7 separate regions of the Homo sapiens genome follow, and all the other regions are linked to region 2. The links are contacts of gene promoters, found by promoter capture Hi-C in blood cells and fetal thymus (Javierre and others, 2016). All regions are on one chromosome and are shown on one strand. Each heading gives the region's core, a stretch centred on a gene start or on the middle of the fragment in contact. The rest is flanking DNA. Distances are from core to core; before and after follow the strand shown.

Region 1 (2,999 bases), core at 384-2,883, 370 kb after region 2:
GGCCTACTGCAGCCTCAAACTCCTGGGCTCAAGAGATCCTCCCACCTCAGCCTCCCAAATAGCCAGGACCACAGGCACATGCCACCAAGCCTGTCTATACGTTAATATCTATTTAGGGTTTTGTTTTGTTTAGAGACAGGATCTCGCTCTGTCACCCAGGCTGGTGTGCAGTGGCATGATTATAGCTCACTGCAGCCTCAAACTCCTGGGCTCAATTGATCCTCCCACTTCAGCCTCCTAAATTACTGGGATTACAGGCAACAGCCACCACAGCCAGCCTCACTCCAATTTTGTGGCTCTCTAAAAAGCCAAGGAAGAGCTAGATCTTTGCATGATTTCTTACCCAGCATTTTGTTAGGCTCTTGCACCCAACATGCTAGAGAAACCAGTCAGCCTCACTTTGGGGCATCTTAATCTTGTTTCCAGCTCACTTCAAAAATGTATGTATTGGTGTAAATAAAAACCAATGTTTATGTTACAAATGAGATTTTAAACTCTGAAGACACATTCTCTAAATTGCATATCTGGCTGTTTTTTTAGTTTTCCTTTTCTTATCCCCTAACTACTTTTCACTTGAAGGTCCCAGAATCATACAAAATGCTCTGGATCCCAGATGGAAGCTAGTATCTTTCCTTTCTGATCTGCCCCTCCTCTGTTTATTGGGTCAGTGAATAACTCCCTGTTCAGCAAAGTGACCAAACTAATTATTTGAGAAATGGTCCTGAAGAAGCTGAGACTATAATCGAGGAGAAAACAGACATTTTCCAGACATTTTCTATTTTCTAATTCTTTTTTGCATTCAGCAAATACTAGCATGGTGCTAGGGCTGAAAGTACAGTGAGAGACCAGGCACAGTGTCTGCCCTCAAGGAACTGATGGAATGGGAGAGGCAGAAAAGCAGCAAGGGAACTACTGTCTGTGAGGCTGCAGTGCTCTGCTGGAACAGCGCAGTGGGCCAGGAAGCAAAGGAAAGCCCTCAGGAAGGGGCTCGGCTGCGCCCCCACAGGCTGCCACTCCCCGAAGCCACCTGAATGCCTCCTTGTCATCACTCTCGGTGGGATGTTTGGGTTTCTTCTGTCCTCCCCACCCCCAGTTCAATTCTTTTTGCTTAGACACCTCTTAAAATAATATTGAGAAACTGTGTCCCTTCAACATTTTTAACTTGGCATCTAAAAATTTTTATAAGATTAAACAGATGCAAAGAATGTAATTTTCAGCATATTATAAACATCAGCATGTTAAAATAAAACAGTTGTAACATTCTTTTAAATGTATTCAATGGAATCTAAATGTCACATAATCTAAGTACCCCTTATACACGCGCACACACACACACACACACACACACTCTCTCTCTCTCTCTCTCTCTATCCATTCTTTCTCATTCACATACTCAACACTTCTTGGCACGTCACCCTGCACCCGTGCCCTAGCTGAGTTTGGAAACTGCCATTATGTATGGTTGGTTCTCAGGCCCTTGTATATCCTTTGTAGCACCCAGTACCCATGTGCCAAACCCTGGCTAAGCATTTTGCATGCATCATCTCATGTAATCCTCCACAACCCTCTGAGATTGGATCATTATCTGCACTTTACTTATGAAGAGAATGAGGCTGAGAAAAGTGAGTTGAATTCAGGTCTTTCCGAATACCTTGCACTCATTTTTAGATATGGGATCTTTCTGTGTTGCCCAGGCTGGAGTGCGGTGGCTATTCACAGGCTCAGTCATAGCATACTACAGCCTCAAACTCCTGGGCTCAAGAGACCCTCCCACCTTAGCCTCCTGAGTAGCTAGGACTATAGGCAAGCACCACCACACTCAGAAATACCCTGTGCTCTTAACTGCTACATTATATTTAGAATACACTTCAATGGAGTGATTTTAGTGTTTATGTGAACATCTCAAAGAGAATGTAAAACTTCCAGCATACTCCTACCTAACACTCCCTACCCTCTTCTGCTTTTCTTCCTAGCATTTAGCAACATCTGATATGTTGTGTGTCTTACTTATGTGTTCATTATTAAGCCTCCCCCTTCCCCTGGCCCTATTTAAAACAGGTTTAAGGAAGCAGGTCTGTTTTGTTCACTGCTATTTTACCTAGGACAGTGGCCAACACAGAGGCGGTGCTCAATACATATTCGTTGAATAATGAACCAGACTTGCTGGTATAAAGCCATTGATAGTGTCAGAGACTCTAGACATACTGGTGGTTGCTACGTGCTCTGATCAGCCTTCTTGGCTTCTGCTATCATTAGGTAGCAGTATGGATCAACAATCTAATGACTTTGGAGTGAAGGTCCTTTATGTGCCAACAAGAAAAGAGGAAACCTAATCACACACCCACAGTTCTTGCTGAGCAACAAACAGTAAAATAATACACTTTATTTACCCAGTTCAACACAGAATCAGGTGGACTTGCTGCAGGAATACGGTAGGGCTGCTCTTTGAGTCATTGTCGCCCATTGTTCACTGCACGGGGTTAGGGCACATCAGGATGTGTTTGGAAAGCTGGTAGCAGTGGCCTCCCAGAAGTCCCAGAGAGCTGAAGAGGCTTCCAGAAAGGAATACAAGCCACGGCTGTGACAGCCCCAGCTGGGTACGTCTAAAGAACCAGTGGTACAGCCTGACACAAACCTCTCTTAGTCTGGGGAGGGAACTGTAGAATCTTCTGGAAAAGAATGCATCTTAGGAAAGAGCCAGGTGTGATGACCTTGACACAAGAGGAGGGGGGTCTGTTGGATGAGATCTAGAGTCTAAGCAGAGCGACATTACTGCTAGTGTCTGGCTCACCCCCTGAGCATGTGTCTGGGTCCTAGAGAAAAACAGAGCTACAAGGAAAACTGGAAGGAGCTTTTCTACCATGCTTTGAACTCATAGGGGGCTCTAACAGAGCATATCACAAAGAGGAGGAAAGGAGCCATCCACTATGCCCAGCCTCAATCCTGCCAGAGGTACAGCCCAGCAGGCTTTGGTGTTCCCTCGGCTCTCAAGGTAAACA
Region 2 (2,972 bases), core at 110-2,609:
TCTTGACGGAAGGGCAATCCTGTCCCTTTAAACTCAATGAAGGCAGCGGCCAGGTCCTTCTGAGTCCCCGTATAATTGCCTAGAACTTAACATTTAGTATTCATAGTCCTTGGTTTACAGACGGGTCCGACAGTTAGAAACTATTACTTCCTCCTCTTTCCTCCTGGGCGCTGTCCTCCTTTTCTCTTGCCACCCAAGCCAGGCGGCCCAGAATTCATCTTGCCTCCCAAGCCCCCTTTCCTCTTCCCTCCCTGGCTGGGCGGGCCCCCTTTCCTCTTGCCCCCAGGCCCCTGCCGGCCTCCCTTTCTCTTGCCCTTCTGGCTCATTTTCCTCCTCTTGGCGGCCTCCTCCTGGTCCTCCTCCCTCATCTGCTTATTGGTGGCCCTAGTCACATCCAGCTGAGGCTTCTTGCTGTTCATGACACGAAGCAGCTCCAACTGGTTCTTTTTCTCGGCTGCAAAGTCCCCGAAAAGGGGTTGAAACTTCCTTTTCTTGCCGGAGCCCCGGGGCACCTTCTCCTTGGGGAGGCGCTCCTGAAAGCGCCCCACAGAGGCGGTGGAGACCTTGGCCACTTGCATGGCGCGGCCCAGCTCCTCCTTACTCTGGTGTCCGGTAGGGTGCAAGCCGGCCGCGCTGGGCAGCTGCATCTTGTGCGCGCGGGCCAGGTTACGCAGCCGGTTCAGCTCGTTCTTGGCCACCCTTTCCTTCTTGGCCTGAATCCGCTTGGCGAACTGGTCCTCCAAGGGGTCGGCATTGCCGGGCACCTCAATCAGCCATTCTTTGGTGTCGTCCCGGGCGCGCTGGTAGCCCCAGCGCCGCCGCCACTGGCCACTCACCTCGTCCCACACCAGGTTGGTCTTCTTCTTGGGACGGATGCCCTTGAGGCGCGCGAACTGCTGCCAGCGTGTAAGTGGCCGCGGTCGGGGCAGAGGCTTCTCTCGCGGCAGGCGTGTGGTGGGCTCCGGCAGCCGCGCCACTATCGCCTCTTCCACGCGCTCCGTGGGCAGCTGCCACAGCTGGTTGATGAGCAGTTGCGTGTTGTCCCGCGCCAGGGCCTGTAGCTCGGCCTCCGGCGTGGGTCCGGCGCACCGCAGCCCGGTCGGGGGGTTCCGGTCCGACGCCAGCAGGTTGCCCAGGTCAAACTGCAGCTCCAGCTCCTTGTGCACCGTGATGCGTTGCAACTTCTCTGCCTCGTCCTGCTCTGCCTTTGCGAGCAGCTCCTCCACGCTCTGGCCCTCCATGGCTCCGGCTCGGCTCACTCGCTTTGGGGCTGCAGCTGAAGTTACTTTTCCTACAGTGGCGGCCCAAACTCCGGCAGCATAACCACGTGCAGATGCCGGGATGCCCAATCCGGAAAAGAAAGGTTCGCTTCCGGAGCGTCCGGAAGCGGCTCGCAATCCGGGCGACCAGAGGAAAGGCCGGCAGAGGGCGGTATGGAGAGATGATGGGATTAGAAGCGGGACCTTTAGGCTGGCGCCAGATAGAGGCGGAGCTGGCCCGAGCAGGCCGCACTGCTAGTTCCAGAGCAGGATTGGGACTACGATTCCCAGGATGCAGGGGGCGGGAGGCGGTCTAGAGGGCGGTCCAGGGACAGCTCGGGGGGCCGCCTAGGGGGTGGTCCAGGGGGCGGTCCGGGGACAGTCTCGCAGGCGGTCTAGAGAGGGCGGTCCCGGGGGGCGATCTAGGGGGCGGTCTTGGGGGGGGCAGTTCAGGGAGTGGTCTTAGGATGGTGGTCCGGGGACAGTCTTGGGGCTCAATCCGGAGGGGCGGGCCGGAGGGTTTGTCCAGGGGCGCGGTCCGGGACCGGGGCGGGTACAAATTCCTGGGACTGCCTGTGGTGTGGGGTTCCAATCAAGTGCGTGTTACAATTTCAGTGTAAATCCGTTGTGAAGATGTTTAGACAATCACCCTTCTTAGGGCCAAATAGTTTCACTGGAGTCATAGTCGGCTTTCAGGGTTCCTAGTTGTGGCCCGAGAAAGATAACATCCCAAAGATACACATAGAGCTAATTGTAGAAGATTCGTTTTGTTTTGGGAGTCAGTGGCTCTGGCAATGAAGCCACCCCGAGTGGGCGCGGGTGTGCACCGACCCTAGTGAGCTAGCTGACTCGGAGATCCGGGATTCTGCAGTTACAGAACCTAGTCTAGTTCAATTAATCTAGTACAGTGCTGAAACTAAGCCACGCTCTGCAGTTACACTGCCTGGGTTCCAATCCTGACTGTGCCACTGTTGGTCCTTCAGCAATTTTACTTGTTGAGGCCGTTTTAAGGCCTGCGAGATAATGATAATAATACTTCCTAGGGTGGTTATAAGATAAATGAGTTAATATCGTCCAAGGGAGGGTTAGACGAGGGCCTGGAGCGTATGAGTACTCAGTACAAATTAGCCAAATACCGATTATTATTTCATTTTCATAGGCTCTGGGAGGTAAGTGCTACATGGTGTTAAGTATGAGTCAAACGGCCTACAATCAGGTATCAGGTCACCATTACTTGGAGAGGATGTTTGATCTAAGCCTTATTTATAAATTGACAAACATAAAACATTAGTTACTGCTACATGGTAAGAACTCAGTATGTGTTAGCTATTAGTATTAACTATGTTATTAATTATTGTATTAACTATATTATTTTCACAGATGAAACAAGGAGGGCTCAGAGAGGTGAAATGACTTATCTAAAGTTATGCAGTTAGGGAATATAAGAACAAGAGATATCTTAACTCTGGTTTTAAGTCTGTAGATCTATTCTCTGCAATGTCGTCCAAGCTCTTGATACTCATTAAAGTGTGGTCTGCATACCAGCAGCATAATATCCCCTGGGAGCTTGTTGGAAATGCAGAACGTCAGGCCTCACTCTAGATGTAATTTATCAGAACCTTTATTTTAATAAGATCTGTAGGTGACTAGGATGTACATTTGAGTATCAGAGGCACTGTTGATTGCGTGGTTTACAGGGTTTATCTTCCTTTC
Region 3 (3,049 bases), core at 222-2,721, 290 kb after region 2:
CATCCCTCCCATATTGAAATGGTAAGATGATGATGGGTGGGATATTTGTTTCTAACCAATGCCAACATTTCTGGATGTAAAGAAAAAAAATCAAATGGTCATTTGGTTGTTTCCTTAGAAGTGAGTAGGTAACATTTAACATTGACCTAAAGCCATTGTTGAACTGTTGCCATCATGGAAATGTTAAAATTGGCAGACTCCAATTTCTAGCCACCTTTATATTTTAGTAGTAATAAGAAAAACAAAATATGCAACTGTAAAGAGAACATTTCATGGAAAGAAAAATCAACAATAGATGACCTTACATTAAAAGAGAAGACAGCCTTCCAAGCAAAGCACCATCATACCACTGTTTTAAATGGCTAGATTTTTATTGGTTCACTTTTCTCTCAGGTAATTATCACTCTCTAAAATGATCTTGTTGTTCATTTGATTACTGCCTAACTCCTCTATTAGAATAAAAAATGCCTGTGAACAGAACCTTTTATGTTTAGCTCATCACTAGTTCCCAGCATTATGTGTACAGAACATGGCACACAATGCACCCTCGAGAAATATAGATTGAAATAATGAATGAATGAATGAATAAAATGTGACTTGCATCTAGAAATATTCAGCCTTCATGCAAAAGCTTCAGTTTTGTTCTGTTCCAAAGAAATAGGTATTTAAGTGGATATTCCAAGCTTCTGCTTCATTCAGTGTTAAAAAAAAAAAAACCCAAAAACCAAGAAACCAGTAAAATATAGCTATGCAACCTTTGGGAAACCATTGAACCTCAGGACAGTTGTTAGTATGTTTGTATTTGTACAGTGAAAGACTGAATTATATAATTGCTAAAGTCCCTTCTGACTCTACAGTGCCAAGACTCTCTAATTTCAGGTAAATGTGAAGAAGTTTCAGAGAGTCATTAGGCTATGATGTGCTTCCCTCTGTTCCTGGCAAGTCTTGTGTCATCGACAGCATTAAGATATACATTACATGTCCTAGCCCTGAAAGCTCAGCACTAGCTTGCACACGTGCCATGGCCACAATAGGAAAAAAACCTAAAGCAACAATGACCACTGCTCTTACCATGTAAGGAACACAGCTCTGTGACCAAAATAGAGCTGAAGATAAGCTCTTAGACCCACCACTTGTCACTGAGCAACTGTGGCTTGATTAGGCCCATTCATATCTCCACCACATTCCTCCAACATTCATCGAGACATACTTGTTAGAGCTATACCTTCATTTGAAATAAGGAACTTCAAAATTCCCTTCAATAAGCAAACAGGATTTCCTGCCACCAACCCTCCAAAAAAGAAAAGAAAAGCAGCCTGTAGATTAACAATACTGAAAAAAGAACTACATTAAAGTAAGAAGTTCCTTCCAAGAAAATCAAATCCAGCCTTTCATTCATAAAGCTCCAGTTACAAGCACTTGGAGAAGTCCCATGAGTACAGACTAGGGTGTCCCTAGAAAGGGGACAGATAAACTACAGAGACACCAACTTCTGGGCACCCAGGCTGGGATTCAGCCCTCCACCAGCTGGCCCCTTTGTGTAGTGCTCAGCAAACAACTCCATTCAGTGGCTGTGGATCTCGGGTCTTCCAAACTCAGGCTCTTTTCTACTACTTCATGTTGCCGCTCCATGTTCGAAGGATAATTATACGGTAATTTGAGGGATTTCTAACACTTACTCTTGGGGTTCTTGGCATTTTGGTTTTTCTGGGCTAAGCCAGATCATTTAGAATCTTCTTGAGTAGACGCTATAAGGGCTGAGGGCCAGGTGGGCCTGTTCTGACAGGAACCCCATGGTTCAGTGAAAGCCACTTGTCAGACTGAGCAGATGTTTATCTCACTCTGGTCTGCTGTGGGTAGTCACCATGTTTCCCAGAAGAGGCTCAGTCTCCCTTGGTTGCCTATATTTCCAGTTGCCACAAAGCCTCTTAGATAAATAACGGAAGTCATTTGTAGCTCCATTCATTCTCAACGTGTCCCTCTAGAGGGAGATGCTCAGTCCTGCCATCACAATTAACTAGGACCTGATAGTCTTCTGACATCATTTAAAAGATGCTCCAGAATCTCTAGAGGTTCCTATTGGATCACATCATCAGAATAAGTGTGTGCTTTCCAAGATGACTCTGAGGCTGTAAGGTGACATTTACCAAGCCCCTGGAATGTACCTCTTATTTCAACTTCGTCATCATGACAATGCTGTGAAGAAGGTATTATCATCCCCACTGTAACGCTGAGGAAGCCGAGAGACAGGAAGCTTAAGTAACATGCCCAGTGTCGTGTAATTAAGCAACAGAACTAAAACTCAAACTCTGAAATCTGTTCTTTTAAACATATGTTATATTGCCTTTAAAATTCTGGCATGGTATTTAAACAACTCTAATTATATTCATACTTCATATTTGTAATGGCATGGACAATGTCTCAGAGACTAGAAATGGTCATTTTGGGTAAAATCACTGTTTTGGAAATACAATGAATTTGTTATCACTGCAAAATCATTGGAGGGTTTTATTCAAGTTGTCCTTTTTCAGAGATTGGAAATGCTCAATATCAAATATTTATTATTTACTTGGAACAGTTTCCACTAGACAGGCCATACAAAACAGGGATGTTTCTAGGCCTGCCAGCCTGCCTTTGGGATGGCCAGTATTAACAGCCTGTGCCCTTAAGTATCCAGTGACATAGGATAAGTTCCACTGGTAAAGTTCACAAGAGGTAGATTATGTTCTCTAGGGATGAGAAGTGAAAGTCAAGCATGTTTCCCTGGAAGCAGAGAGCTCCCCAGTGGACATTTCCATTCCTACAGGCAGCCCCCCATCCAGTTCCATTCTGTTCCAGAACAGCTCCAGGCCTAGAAAGGCAAGTGAACCTTCAGATCATGCTGGGCTCATGGAACAGCCCAGAAGCCCTCCATCAGCCTGCAGTCCGGAGTTCAGGGAACGTCTTAGGCCAAGCCACTCTCAAGAAGCGGAGGTAAAAAGACTCACGGCTCAGTTCATTCACCATCAGCCCACAGCATGGAAGGAAAATGCCACTCCCCCTTTCAAAC
Region 4 (3,156 bases), core at 49-2,548, 390 kb after region 2:
GCCAACATGGTGAAACCCTGTCTCTACTAAAAGTACAAAAATTAGCTGTGGTAGCGGGTGCCTGTAATCCCAGCAACTCAGGAGGCTGAGGCAGGAGAATCACTTGAACCTGGGAGGCAGAGGTTGCAGTGATCCGAGATGGCGCCACTGTACTCCAGCCTGGGTGACAGAGTGAGACCCCATCTCAAAGGAAAAAAAAAAAAAAAAAAGGTTCTTTTCATTGCACTAATCCTTATATAAATGGCAACCTGAAGATGGGGCAAGTCAGAATGTTACTAGTAAACCACAGTACCTGTTCCTGGAACCCGGAACCCCGATTCTGTGTCCGCAAACAGGAACAACTTGCTGTTTTCAACTGGTCTGGAAATAGATGTGCAAAGAAATAAAAGAAGGCAACAGCAAAAGCTGCTGTTCCATACCTGTTCCACCGTTTCAAAGCAAACAGCTGCTCCTTTCCATCCTTCCCCCCCATGCAGGGTTAAGCAGGTCAATAGAGTCAGGTTACTTTTCATTTGTTACTTTGCCAGCCAATTGGTTATCCCTCTGGAAAACACAACAAAGAGAGAATGAAACATGCATGACCGTAAAGCTTGCAATTACAAGGCATCCACTGATACCAAAATATATGCTGCAGCCCACTTTTGATCCTTTGTTGACTGGTGCTTGGTTCAACCAAACACCACTGAGGAACTGCCTCCAGCGTCTCCACCGGGACTCTCCATTAAGGAAATAAGCTCATCTCCTTACATGTGAAGTGGGTTCCTTCAAACTTCATTTCCTTTTTGATCTAAGGCTACTACTGATCAGTTGATTTAAAATTACTGGAAAGAACATGCAACACTAATAAGGGGGAAACTTTAACTGCTCACTATTTATTAACCCAATATTTTCAAATCTGCATATTTAACCCTCGCCTAGTTAAGAGGCATTGAGTCACAGTACTGACTGAGGTGGTTTTAAGAGTTAAGGCATCTCTTGCTAATGTCCATACTCTCACAGACATTAAAAAGTCTCGTGAGACAACAATTCCTATGATTTAGAGTAAGATCCTACAGACTAAAAAAGTTTTACATGAGACAGGTGTTATTCCTGAATTTGGCACAGTGGGGTCCTGGAGGCTGAAGGAGTAGTTTAAGTGTGCTGTTTACCAAGACAGGTAGCCCAGCTTCAGGCAATTTTGTGTGAATGATTCAGAGCACTCTCACCTCTAGTTGAGAGTTTTTTAGATACCTTCGGATTTCCAGCCAGAGTTTATGAAGCTGCCCATCATCACAGAAGAGGAAGAAGAAGACGAAGAAGAGGGGTGCGAGGAGGGGGAGGGGGGAGGGGGAGGGGGAGAGAGGAGGGAAGAGGGAGAAGGAGGAGTAGGAGGAAGAAGAAGAAGGAGGAGAAGGAGAAGGAGAAGGAGAAGAAGAAGAAGAAGAAGAAGAAGAGGAAGAAGAAGAAGAAACACAAACAAATTTAGAATGAAATACCCAAGTTCCAGCATGACTTCAGCTTAAGGACAGTGTCCTTTGATGAAATAAAAATAGTTGCTATGTAAATATGGTGAGCTTATGGGTAGCTTTTTAAAAATGTATGTTTTAGTTTATGTTTCAAATTTAGTCTAATAAGAAATACTTTTAGTAAAAGTCATTCTTTTTGCACAATGAATCACTCTCCTTAACCATTAATCTTTAAAGTATTACATAGAACATTAGTTTCAAAAAGTTAAGTAGTGCAGAACTCTTCAGCAAAGTGAAACTGTAGCTGAGTTTCAAAGAGAAAGTGCAGTATTCATTCAACAATTAGTCACCTATTGAATTCAAACACTGGACTAACTTCTAGAAATATACTGATAAACAAAAGTCAACACAGACCCTGGGTGTGTGAGTCAAAGAGTTACAGCCTTCCAAGACAGGCAGTGAGCAATCAAATGGTCACTCAAAAAAGTGGAAAAGTGAGACTTTGGAGAGATGCTGCAAGAACGTAAAATCAGTGAACAGAGGAAGATTAGAGAAAGCTTCCCTGAACAAAAACAACTGGGCAGAGATCTGAAAAGAACTAGATAAAGGAGTTGCTGGTAGTAGCAGATATATTCCAAGCAGGTGGAAGAGCATGTTCAAAGGTCCTACGTGCTTAAGTCGGAGAAATTAAAGGGACATTCTGATGTGTGCTGTCATACATAGGACGTCATTACATGCCTATAAGCATATGGCTTCTGATATCAAAAGATACAGCCAGAGATCAATGGGATCATATTCCACGTAACCAGGTGAGGCTTTCTAGAAATGGTGAGTTTCAAATGATATTTGTAAAAGGAAATAACTCATGGTAAGCACATTAAACAATTCCTTGATTCAAAATGCACTAAATGTATTGTAAAAGCATTGCCAAGTGGATCATTTATGTTTTGAAAAAAAGAACTTAGTATATCTTCCAAGATTGAACCAAAAAGTCCTGTCTCTGAGGCAGGAAACTTAAGATAGAACCATGATTGGGAGGAGGGTTTTACTTGCTAATTTCCCTTGTTTTCTCTATTTGTGAGGTCTTCACCATTCCCTTAGGGGCTCCTAGGGACCCCTTATACACCTCTTTCAATTGCCACATATGGTTAGGGCTATTTTAAGAAATGACTGGTGCACTACCACAGAATCTGCAGCAGGTACCAGATCAATTATTTGAATATTCAACCCAAGCTATCTAACACATAAGCATTAGGGTTACATAGTCTTTCTTTTAAATTTCATATCTCAGCAGGCTCAAACACCACTTGTTTCGAACATGTGATGTGCAAGGACATGATGAACAAAGGCATTATTGTTACTAATATTATTATTTTTAGTACCTCTCTACATCATTTATGTTATTAGTATGCAATATATGAAACTCAAGCCATCACTTGTAAATTTCAAAGAGATAAATCATCTGATCAAGATTCATTGTGTTAACTTACTTGGGAAAGGGAAAAAACAGGTGGTTGCTTTGATTGTATAAAATGAAAAAGCCGTCACTACCACTCTATCTAAGATGTAGCTACTGAACAATTCTGGCAATTCTTCTGTAAAATCAAGTGCTTATATGTTTCTTCAGAAGAACAAACTGGTTAATTCCTATTATGTTTTATCATTTTACAAAGTTAAAAAAAAAGTCCCTTTTAAAGAGAAGTTACAAAGG
Region 5 (3,062 bases), core at 541-3,040, 340 kb after region 2:
GGATCATAGAGACGGTTTCCCCCATGCTGTTCTCTTGATAGTGAGTTATTACAAGATCTGATTAGGTTAAAAGTGAGGCACTTCCCTTTCACTCACTCCTCTGTCTCCTGTCGCCTTGTGAAGAAGGTGCTTGCTTCTCCTTCACCTTCCTCCATGACTGTAAATTTCCTGAGGCCTCCCCAGCCATGCAGAACTGTGAAGTCAATTAAACCTCTTTTGTTTATAAATTACCCAGTCTCAGGTGGTATCTTTATAGCAGAGTGATAACAGACTAATACAGAAAATTGGTACAGGCAGAGTGGGGTACTGCTATAAAGATAACCTGAAAATATGGAAGTGACTTTGGAACTGGGTAACAGTCAGAGGTTGGAACAGTTTGGAGGGCTCTGAAGAAGACAGGAAGATGTGGGAAAGTTTGGAACTGTCTAGAGACTTGTTGAATGGCTTTGACCAAAATGCTGATAGTGATATGAACAATGAAGTCCAGGCTGAGGTGGTCTCAGACGGAGATGAGGAACTTGTTGGGAACTGAAGCAAAGGTCACTCATGCAGAGACTGACAGCATTTTGCCCCTGCCCTAGAGATCTATGGAACCTTGAACTCGAAAGAGATGATTTAGGGTATCTGGTGGAAGAAATTTCTAAGCAGCAAAGCATTCAAGAGGTGATCTGGCTGATTCTGAAAGCCTTCAGTTATATGTGTTCACAAAGAGATGGTTTGAAATTGGAATTTATGTTTAAAAGGCAAGCAGAGCATAAGGTTTGGATTTGCAACCTGACTATATGGTAGAAAAGAAAAATCCATTTTCTGGGGAGGAATTCAAGCCTGCTGCAGAAATTTGCATAAGTAACGAGAAGCTGAATGTTAATAGCCAAGATGATGGGGAAACTGTCTCCAGGGCATGTACAGACCTTCACAGAAGGACCTCCCATCACAAGCCTGGAGGCCTAGGAGAAAAAAAAATGGTTTCTTGGGCCAGGGCCAGGGCCCCACTGCTCTGTGCAGCTTCAAGACTTGGTGCCCTGCATCCCAGCCACTCCAGCTCCAGATGAGGCTGGAAGGGGCCAAGGTACAGCTAAGGCTATTGCTTCAGAGGGTGCCTCAAATCTTGGTGGCTTCCACGTGGTATTGGGCCTCCTGGTGTGCAGAAGACCAGAGCTCAACTTTGGGATCCTCCACCTAGATTTCAGAGGATGTATGGAAATGCCTGGATGTCCAGGCAGAAGTCTACTGCAGGGGTAAAGCCCTCATGGAGAGCCTCTGCTGGGGCAATGCAGAAGGGAAATATGGGTTTGGAGCCCCCACACACAGTCCCTACTGGGGCACTGCCTAGTGGAGCTGTGAGAAGAAGGCTACCATCCTCCAGATCCTAGAAAGGTAGATCCATCAATAGCTTGCACCAAGAACCTGGAAAAGCCACAGGCACTCAATGCCAGCTGGGAAAGGCAGCTGCAGGGGCTGTACCCTGCAGAGCCACAGGGCCAGAGCTGCCCAAGGCTGTGAGGGCCCACCTCTTGCATCAACATGCCCTAGATATGAGACATAAAATCAAAGGAGATTTTGGAGCTTCAAGATTTAATGACTGCCCAGCCAGGTTTCAGACTTGTCTGGGGCCTGTGGTCCCTTTGTTTTGACCAGTTTCTCCCATTTGGAATGGGAACATTTACCCAACGCCTGTACCTCCATTGTATCTTGGAAGTAACTAACTTGCTTTTGATTTTACAGGCTCATAGGTAGAAGGGATGTGCCTTGTCTCAGATGAGACTTTGGACTTGGACTTTTGAGTTGATGCTGGAATGAGTTAAGACTTTTGGGGACTATTGGGAAGGCATGATTGGTTTCGAAATGTGAAAAGGACATGAGGTTTGGGATGGGCCAGGGGCAGAATGATATGGTTTGGCTCTGCGTCCCTATCAAATTTTATCTCAAATTGTAATCTCCATGAGTTGAGGGACGGACCTGGTGGAAGGTGACTGGATTATGGGGCTGGTTTCCCTCATCCCATTCTCACAATAGTGAGTGAATTCTCATGAGATCTGAAAGTTTAAAAGTGTGGAACTTCCCCTTTGCTCACTCTCTCTCACCTGTCACCTTATGAAGAAGGTGCTTGCTTCTTTTTCACCTTCTGCCATGATTGTAAGTTTCCTGAGGCCTCCTCAGCCATGAGGAACTGTGAGTCAATTAAACCTCTTTTGCTTATAAATTACCCATACTCTGGTTGTATCTTTATAACAGTGTGAAAACAGACTAATACAGTAACTGAATTCAAATCATAAATGTATTTCCCTAGTTAATCCCTGTTCCTTTCTCTTATTTTTTAGTATAGTAAGGTATAAGAAGACAAAGTGTTAAGTAGCTATTACTTTTATTCTGGAGTAAAGATTGCCCCATATCAGTTTTACTATACTTTGCATCTTGACATTTCTGGATAAAAGATGGGGAGAATAATAGAAGAAAGAACTGCTAACCATATTTCCTTAAAATTAGTGCTCATGTATGAAAAATTAATTTCCTGTGGTAATCTTCATATGCTGGTCAAATCTCCAAGTACAATATAATAATCTGTAACATAGAATTTAGATGGGTAATTAATATAAAGCCCTGGCTCCACTTAGTCTTCCCCATCCCACCTTGTCTCATCTTAATTAGTTTTCCCCTTCCCTAAAACCAGAGTATTATGCTCTGGAGGCATTTTGTCTTCTTCCTTGCCAGTGAGGGTTGGCTCCTCTGTTCTTTTAAACATCTTTATATAATGTAGATTTTTTAATGTAAATGTAAAGGTAGCTAATAGTTCCTTCAAAGAAAAATTTCTGTTGGCAAAAGTCATCAAACTTGAAATCCTGATTTATAGTACACACAAGGAAATATCCTCAGTAGTGGCTATATAACTTGCCAAACCCAGTTCAAAATGAAAATGTGAGGTACCTTATTCAAAAATTAAGAATTTTAAGACAGTGACAGCACAGCAGCAAACCAAGTGCTAGAAATCTTAGACAGTGCAACAAGGCAAGAAAAAGAAACAAAAGGAATACAGATTGGAATGGAAGAAATAAAACTGTTTC
Region 6 (3,151 bases), core at 308-2,807, 410 kb after region 2:
AGCTGTGGAATGGATGATCTTCTAGTTCCCCTCCGACTCTAAAATTCTGCAGTATGCGACAGGCTGCAGCAGCATGTGACTAACACAAGGATCAGGGAACGTTACAGTCAACAAATGCAAATGGAGATGAGTTAGGACATTCTGTGTTTTGTGGGTATTATCTGAGGTTCAGCTTAAACTTAGTTTTCAATGGCTATCAATGAAGGAAGCCTAAAAACTGGGCCAATGAGATTTTAATGTTCAAGTCTTAAGTGGTTATGATTAGATCATAACCTAATTGTGAAAATCACAGTGACTTCTGTACAGAAGTTGAATGTGTGCTATGAAGTTTATGTGCAAGTATATTTTGCTTTTATCTGGATCTCTCAGTTTTACATGCTTTGGGGACTATTACTACTTTCATAGAGTGTGAGAGTATTGACCTTACTGCTGTGATATATTTATTCGTGATGTGTTGGAGGCCAAGGAGAGTTAGAGTTGTGTCCTGTGGATAGAGAATCCATCTCCTCCTCTTCTTGTCGATGGCTGTTGGGGTCCCCTGTGGGTAACTGACCTACCTGTCAGAACATGGACTCTTACTCCCACTGAGGGAGCATCGCCATCAACTCTGACCTTGCAGGCAGAGCTCAGCGTGCCTGCCTGAGCTGTCCTGTGCTCCAACTCCGGGGTCGCAGTGTGCTAAGACCCAAGGGAGTCCACATGGGGATGAGTCAGGGCCTGGCGCTGGCCCCATGCTCCGCCCCACTGGTAAACAGAACAGTTCTTTGCCGTCACTCAGAGCCTCTCAGGGCCCCAAGACTCCAGGAAGAAACAAGTATTGTAGAAGCCAAAACCCCAAGGCAAGGTAAAGAAAACAGAACTGTCCGCATCCCCAGCAATGATTTCACTGGCAGGAGTTGCTGGGGGCGGGGTGGGGGGTCCGGTATATGTTCCAGCAGAGCTGTTTTACTTACTTCTCAACCAAAAGGCCCTTCTCTTTTACTCTTTATAGGGGTATCCTTTTGCCTTTCAAGATTTGAACTTTCAAAACTTGACCTTAGAGTCAGTCTTGCTTGCTAACCCATAATACAACTTTGCACCTTTTATTACTTTTGTTTGTTTTTGTACTGGCTTCTATTAAAATACTTCCTTAGTTAACTTATTTTTGTTTACTCTACCCTGTCATCCGGGGAGGAGCTATTGAAAGAAAAAAACCTCTAAATAGAAATATATCACCAGCAGCACAAGTGGACTACAGCCTCGGAAATGTCCTCACCGTCCGGCTTCATGGCAAGCAGCCTGGCTGTTGGCAAGATGCGCCCAGCTCTGCTTCTGCTCGTGTGGAACCTTACATTACCCTAACGCAGCTGGGGCACAAGCCGTCTGTGCTTATACTATTCTTCTTAAGCTTGGAGACACACTCACCTTGAGATCTCTCCTCTTTTTCATCTAGACACTGGCAAGTCCTGTTCTGAGCTTAGCAATGCCAAGTACCTGAACTGGAGGCATGGCTGGCTGATCCCTTCTAGCTCCCTCCAGTAGTGTCCCACCTTGGCTATATCAGTAACTGCGCCTCCTGTTATTTCTCCTTCCCAGTTGTCAAGGTCAAACCTGGGCTGGATATTGTGATGTCACAGAGTGGAATCCTCACTCCTCCAGATGGTCCAGCTGAGGCCCTCTTGGACAACACTTCCTCTCCTGCCCATGGTGGGAGGTTGGGAAGGACATTCCCCCATTTCCATTTGCTCTGCCATTCAAAACCTTGTGAGGGCCCTCAGGGAAGAATCCCTTTGCAGGTCATAAACTGACCTGCAGAATTATGGGATCTTAACTGTGGGGAGAGACCTAGAAGACCGGCTAGTGACCAGATTCTCATCTAACTCCTTTTTTTTTGCAGATGAGGAAACTGAGGCCCCACGTGGTGAAGACAATTTTTACCCGAATCCACCCACAACAAGAGACCATTTGGATAATGTACATTATGGGAAGAGAACAGAGTCTCAGTGAAGATCATGTTTCCCCAGCAACACAGGTGCCAGGAGTAGCTGGCTCTGGTCCCAGCCCAGACTCAGAAATCCTGAGCCACCAGACCATTTCTAGATTAACAAGTAAGGTGACTTCTGAGCAACTAATGTTTTCATTGAGATTTGATGATAAGCAGCAAAGCTCAAATGAAAGTCCAGAGTTAGTGTTGGCAGGGCGAGATGGCTCATGCCTGTAATCCCAGCACTTTGGGAGGCTGAGGTGGGAGGATCACTTGAGCCCAGGAGTTTGAGACCAGCCCGAGCTATATAGTGAGACCCTATCTCTACAAAAAATACAAAAATTAGCTGGGCGTAGTTGTGCGTGCCTGTAGTTCTAACTACTCAGGAGGCTGACAGGGGATGATCGCTTAAACCCAAGATATCGAAGCTGCAATGAGTTGAGATTGCACCACTGCACTCCAGCCTGGACGGCAGAATGAAACCTTGTCTAAAACACACACACACACACACACACACACACACACACACACACACACACACACACACACACAGAGTATTGATTACAGCGCTATACCAGGTTCTAGTGTTGAGTAAGGGACAGGGAGGAGCAATCTGTAAAGAAATAGAGTCTCACTGGAATTTCATTCTTCATTATTTCATACCCTTCACTTTTTCTAGACGCTAACCCCATATGATACTAAAAAGTATCTGTATTGCATCAGACGACGTATCTGTGAAGTCAGAGAATTGTGCTTTAAGAATCTCTCAAGAGGAGAACATATATTGGGCTTTCATAATACCAATAACATTTTACATCATGCTTCATTTACAAGCTATTTTCACACATATCACTCTATTTAATCTTCACAACTTGGTGAGATAAACAAAGTATTATTTTCAGTATAATTTTCTGGATGAGAAAATTATAGCTTAGAGAAGTTGTGTCTTGCACGAGATCACAAAGCTAATTAAGTGGAAAGGTTACTTAACATTAACTACAAACCAGATCTTCCACCAAGCCTTTTCCCCACCACAGGGCTTTGCTGGTTGGGGAGAAATTGTCATTTGGTCCCAGAACACACTTGAAGGCCACTGCCTTAAGCAACCCTTTGAGTAACAAGGAAGAAAGTATTCCCGTAGGTCATAAATACTGCTTTACTAACTTCCTAAATGTCTTCATAAAATCT
Region 7 (3,210 bases), core at 222-2,721, 420 kb after region 2:
GACTCACCGTTATTAGGGTTTTAATGCCATTGAAAGTTTCAGATAGGGAAACTTTCCCTTTGTGTCTCCCATAGTCTGGAGAGTGATTATACTTTCATTTATTTATTCCATAAATATTTATTGAAGGCCTGCTTTGTGGAAGGTAAGATATACGCAGTAGACAAGAGAAACATTAATTAGGACCCACCCACCTTAATGAAACTTATTCTACTATGGGAGTCCCCAGATGCACAAATGATGGGACTGTCAGGGCATCTGCAGATACGTGTGTATAAATGTGTGTGATGTAGTGAACTTACTGTGCATGCTCATCTTTGTGCAGAACAATGGTGGTTAATGAGGATGTCAGGGAGAATAGGAGAGAAAGCCTGAAATCTCATGGCATTTGCTTCTTGATTCTCTGCCAGCAAAGACAAACAGTAATGTAAAGAGCTCCCAAAATCATACCCATTGGATTTTGAGATGCATGATGCACTGGAAAAGTGGAAGATTTAACTTCCTTCTTACCTCTTACATACACATGTCACCTATCTAAATTCCTATCTCTTCTGCTAAGCTTTTCTGATCATTCCAGCCCAGAATGATCTCACTGCCTCCTTACTATCAACTCTTATAGTGCTTAGTCTTAATTACCTACTCCCTCACAGTAGGACCTGATTTTTGGAGGTCTCCCTGTGCTCCTTAAGGGCAGGGACCAGATTTAATGCTTTTTTAATATATTGTATGGCCCATCGTCTGGGGCAGAGTGGGAGCTCTAGAACTAAATTGACATGAATGCTCTGCTCAAGTTAATATTAAACTCAGTTTGCATTTTCTTGGGCCATAAACCACCCAGTAATTAGAAGGCCATTTGTGAAGGAAGAGCTCTGAATGTACCAGTAATGGAACAAATCTTGTCTGGTGGCTGGAGGAAGTAGACATGGCCTAATAACAATCTGATCAATTAGGTCAAAACTGACCCAGACAACATCAGAGCTGGAAGTTTATACAAAAATCATTTGGTACACAATCCCCTCACTTTACAGGAAGGAAGCCAGGGCCCATCGAGTTTGCAGCCAGCTCAAGGTCACATTGAGTTTGTGGTAGGTCCCACTGAATTTGTGATAGAACTGGTGACTATAGCTATTGACCAAGTCTGTGCTGGGTAGAGTGTCAGGCTTGAGAGCCAATTAGATGTAGGCTTAACCTGGTGTTTGCCAAGTCCTCACAGTAATAATGACCATGTTTCAAACCTGTTTGAATGTTCCTAGCACCATGTCAAATGCTTCCCATCTGGTAATACCATGACTTCAGTTAATCTTCACCACACATGAGGGAGGCACTGTATCAGAGTTCCACCTGAGAAACCAAACCAGCAAGAGATATTCAGAATTTTTATGTGTAGGTTTATTTGATTGTGGGGTTGGTTAAGGAAGTCCAAAATCCATAGGGCAGGCCATTAAGAAAGGCAGGCTGGAATTTGAGGCACTCAGGGAAGCTGGTCCACAGATGGACTTTCTTCTTCAGGGAAGCCTTAGCCCTGCTTTCAAGTCCTTTTAACTGATTGAATCAGGCCTACCCAGATTATCCAGAATAACCTTCCTTACTTAAAGGCAATTGATTATGGACTTTAACAACATCTACAAAACACGTTCTCTGATTGAGGACAGCGATGCCTGGAATAGCATCTGTGATTGAGTAATTGGAGACAGTAGCTTAGCCAAGCTGACGTATAAAACTGACCATCCTGGATACTACTTTTCACTGGTTTCCCAAGTCACAGGGCTGGTTAGTGGCAGAGCCAGATCCCAGGCCTGCTCTGCCTGTCTCCATGGTCCATACCTGAGATGCACAGGACGGTCTGTGCATGTAAAGTTGGGCAAGTTCTTACACTACTCTGAGCCCCAGATTCTTTCCCCTATAAAATGTAGGAAGTCATATTTATGGCACAGTGTTATGTTAATCAAATGGGGAAAAGTGAGTTGTTAGCACTTAGTAGGGGCTCAACAAATGTTAGCTATTTCTTTCCCCTTTGTACTACATCAGTTGTCCCCAACTTTTTGGTACAAGCGGCCAGTTTCGTGGAAGACAATTTTTCCATGGACCAGGAGTAGGGGATGGTTTCGAGATGATTCAAGCACATTACATTTTTGTGCACTTTATGTCTATTATTATTACATTGTAATATATGATTAGGTAATTATACAACTCCCAATAATGTAGAATCAGTGGGAGCCCTGACTTGTTTTCCTCCAACTAGACGGTCCTATCTGGGGGTGATGGGAGACAGTGACACCTGAAGTGTGTTGCTTATGTCCAATCTACTTCATAATCTCATTTTGGTTGCTGTCACTGCAGAAAGCCCTGCTTCACAAAGACAGGATGTTGGAAATGGCAGCAAGCTTTTCGATGCGCTTGTATCAATCTTAGGATATTCTGCCTTGACTTTAATATAGAAGGTATCGTGATTTGAAGTTGTCTCAAACATACTTTTAAGGTCACTGTCATTTGTGATCTCAACCAGTTGACCCATCTGGCTTATTTGGAAATGGTTCACAGACCCATTCCTTCCCAGTTTGGGGGTCTTTTGTGGTTGGAAGTAATGCTTAAACTCTTTTGAAAGCTAAGATAAGTGATCATGCACCAGGCCCTCGCTTAGTCTCTTTCAAAATCTCTGCTAATGTTTGAAACATGTCAGAAATTCCAATGTTCACTCGTCACTCACATAATTCCATTTTGGCTTTGAAGGCAGCCACTTTATTTGCCTACTTGAACACAGTTGTCATTCTCCCCTAAAGTGACAGATTGAGTCTGTTGAGCAGGTTGAATATGTTGCACAAGTAAGCAAATTTTGTGACCCATTCTGTGTCACTGAAATGTGCAGCCAGTGGTGACTGTTTTTCTAAAAGAAATCTCTGGTGCCGCTCTAGTAACTCAAAAACTCTGGCCAGTGATCTACCTTTAGAAAGCTATCTCACTTCTGTGTATAAGAGAAGACATGTGTGTTCTGTGTCCATCTCCTCATGCAGCTGAGCAAACAGATGTGAGTTAAGGGCATATACTTTAATGTGGTTGATAATTTTAATCACATTCTGCAAAGCGTTGTTAAGTTCAGATGACATTTTTCGGCTAACCAGCATATCTCTATAGATGACACAGTCCATAGACTTACATGCAGAAGCTACCTCTTTGGTCTAAGCAGTGAAACCAGAGAGCCATCCAGTCATGGTA

Evidence for each region. Contacts are between HindIII fragments. The CHiCAGO score rates a contact against its expected background, and 5 or more counts as called.
Region 1: a contact is called between a fragment that was not itself captured here and the fragment with the promoter of RRS1 in region 2, in 16 of 17 cell types (M0 macrophages, M2 macrophages, M1 macrophages and 13 more). The highest score is 24.0, in M0 macrophages.
Region 3: a fragment that was not itself captured here is called in contact with the fragment with the promoter of RRS1 in region 2 in 4 of 17 cell types (M2 macrophages, M1 macrophages, M0 macrophages and 1 more); the score reaches 9.1 in M2 macrophages.
Region 4: a contact is called between a fragment that was not itself captured here and the fragment with the promoter of RRS1 in region 2, in 17 of 17 cell types (M2 macrophages, M1 macrophages, M0 macrophages and 14 more). The highest score is 34.5, in M2 macrophages.
Region 5: a fragment that was not itself captured here is called in contact with the fragment with the promoter of RRS1 in region 2 in 3 of 17 cell types (M2 macrophages, M0 macrophages and M1 macrophages); the score reaches 8.9 in M2 macrophages.
Region 6: a contact is called between the fragment with the promoter of DNAJC5B here and the fragment with the promoter of RRS1 in region 2, in 6 of 17 cell types (M0 macrophages, M2 macrophages, monocytes and 3 more). The highest score is 11.0, in M0 macrophages.
Region 7: a contact is called between a fragment that was not itself captured here and the fragment with the promoter of RRS1 in region 2, in 1 of 17 cell types (M0 macrophages). The highest score is 6.1, in M0 macrophages.

What each region holds. Positions count from the first base shown.
Region 1 is chr8:66,059,960-66,062,958 of GRCh38, reverse strand. All of the region lies in intron 3 of DNAJC5B (DnaJ heat shock protein family (Hsp40) member C5 beta), which reads right to left. Among named protein-coding and RNA genes, the nearest start is that of DNAJC5B, 40 kb to the right of the region's middle. The HindIII fragment of the contact is 3,519 bases long and covers 1-2,999 here.
Region 2 is chr8:66,427,401-66,430,372 of GRCh38, reverse strand. It overlaps RRS1 (regulator of ribosome synthesis 1), which reads right to left and starts at 1,359. Exons shown (of 1, transcript NM_015169.4): 1 at 1-1,359. The coding sequence starts at 1,241. The coding sequence ends at 144. It overlaps RRS1-DT (RRS1 divergent transcript), which reads left to right and starts at 1,396. Exons shown (of 3, transcript NR_040434.1): 1 at 1,396-1,431. The region is part of intron 1 of LOC102724687 (a long non-coding RNA gene); the gene reads left to right. RefSeq lists enhancers at 1,111-1,480, 1,901-1,970 and a silencer at 1,621-1,710. The HindIII fragment of the contact is 6,678 bases long and covers 1-2,972 here.
Region 3 is chr8:66,141,250-66,144,298 of GRCh38, reverse strand. The region is part of intron 4 of TRIM55 (tripartite motif containing 55); the gene reads right to left. Among named protein-coding and RNA genes, the nearest start is that of TRIM55, 16 kb to the right of the region's middle. The HindIII fragment of the contact is 1,571 bases long and covers 686-2,256 here.
Region 4 is chr8:66,040,875-66,044,030 of GRCh38, reverse strand. DNAJC5B (DnaJ heat shock protein family (Hsp40) member C5 beta) reads right to left here. Exons shown (of 6, transcript NM_033105.6): 2 at 420-543. Among named protein-coding and RNA genes, the nearest start is that of DNAJC5B, 21 kb to the right of the region's middle. The HindIII fragment of the contact is 1,413 bases long and covers 592-2,004 here.
Region 5 is chr8:66,086,234-66,089,295 of GRCh38, reverse strand. All of the region lies in intron 5 of DNAJC5B (DnaJ heat shock protein family (Hsp40) member C5 beta), which reads right to left. Among named protein-coding and RNA genes, the nearest start is that of TRY-GTA5-1, 26 kb to the left of the region's middle. The HindIII fragment of the contact is 6,637 bases long and covers 1-3,062 here.
Region 6 is chr8:66,019,959-66,023,109 of GRCh38, reverse strand. It overlaps DNAJC5B (DnaJ heat shock protein family (Hsp40) member C5 beta), which reads right to left and starts at 1,557. Exons shown (of 6, transcript NM_033105.6): 1 at 1,405-1,557. It overlaps LOC105375883 (a long non-coding RNA gene), which reads left to right and starts at 1,629. Exons shown (of 7, transcript XR_929008.3): 1 at 1,629-1,686; 2 at 1,877-2,087. The HindIII fragment of the contact is 2,733 bases long and covers 1,390-3,151 here.
Region 7 is chr8:66,003,411-66,006,620 of GRCh38, reverse strand. The region is part of intron 4 of LOC105375883 (a long non-coding RNA gene); the gene reads left to right. Among named protein-coding and RNA genes, the nearest start is that of DNAJC5B, 17 kb to the left of the region's middle. The HindIII fragment of the contact is 1,825 bases long and covers 559-2,383 here.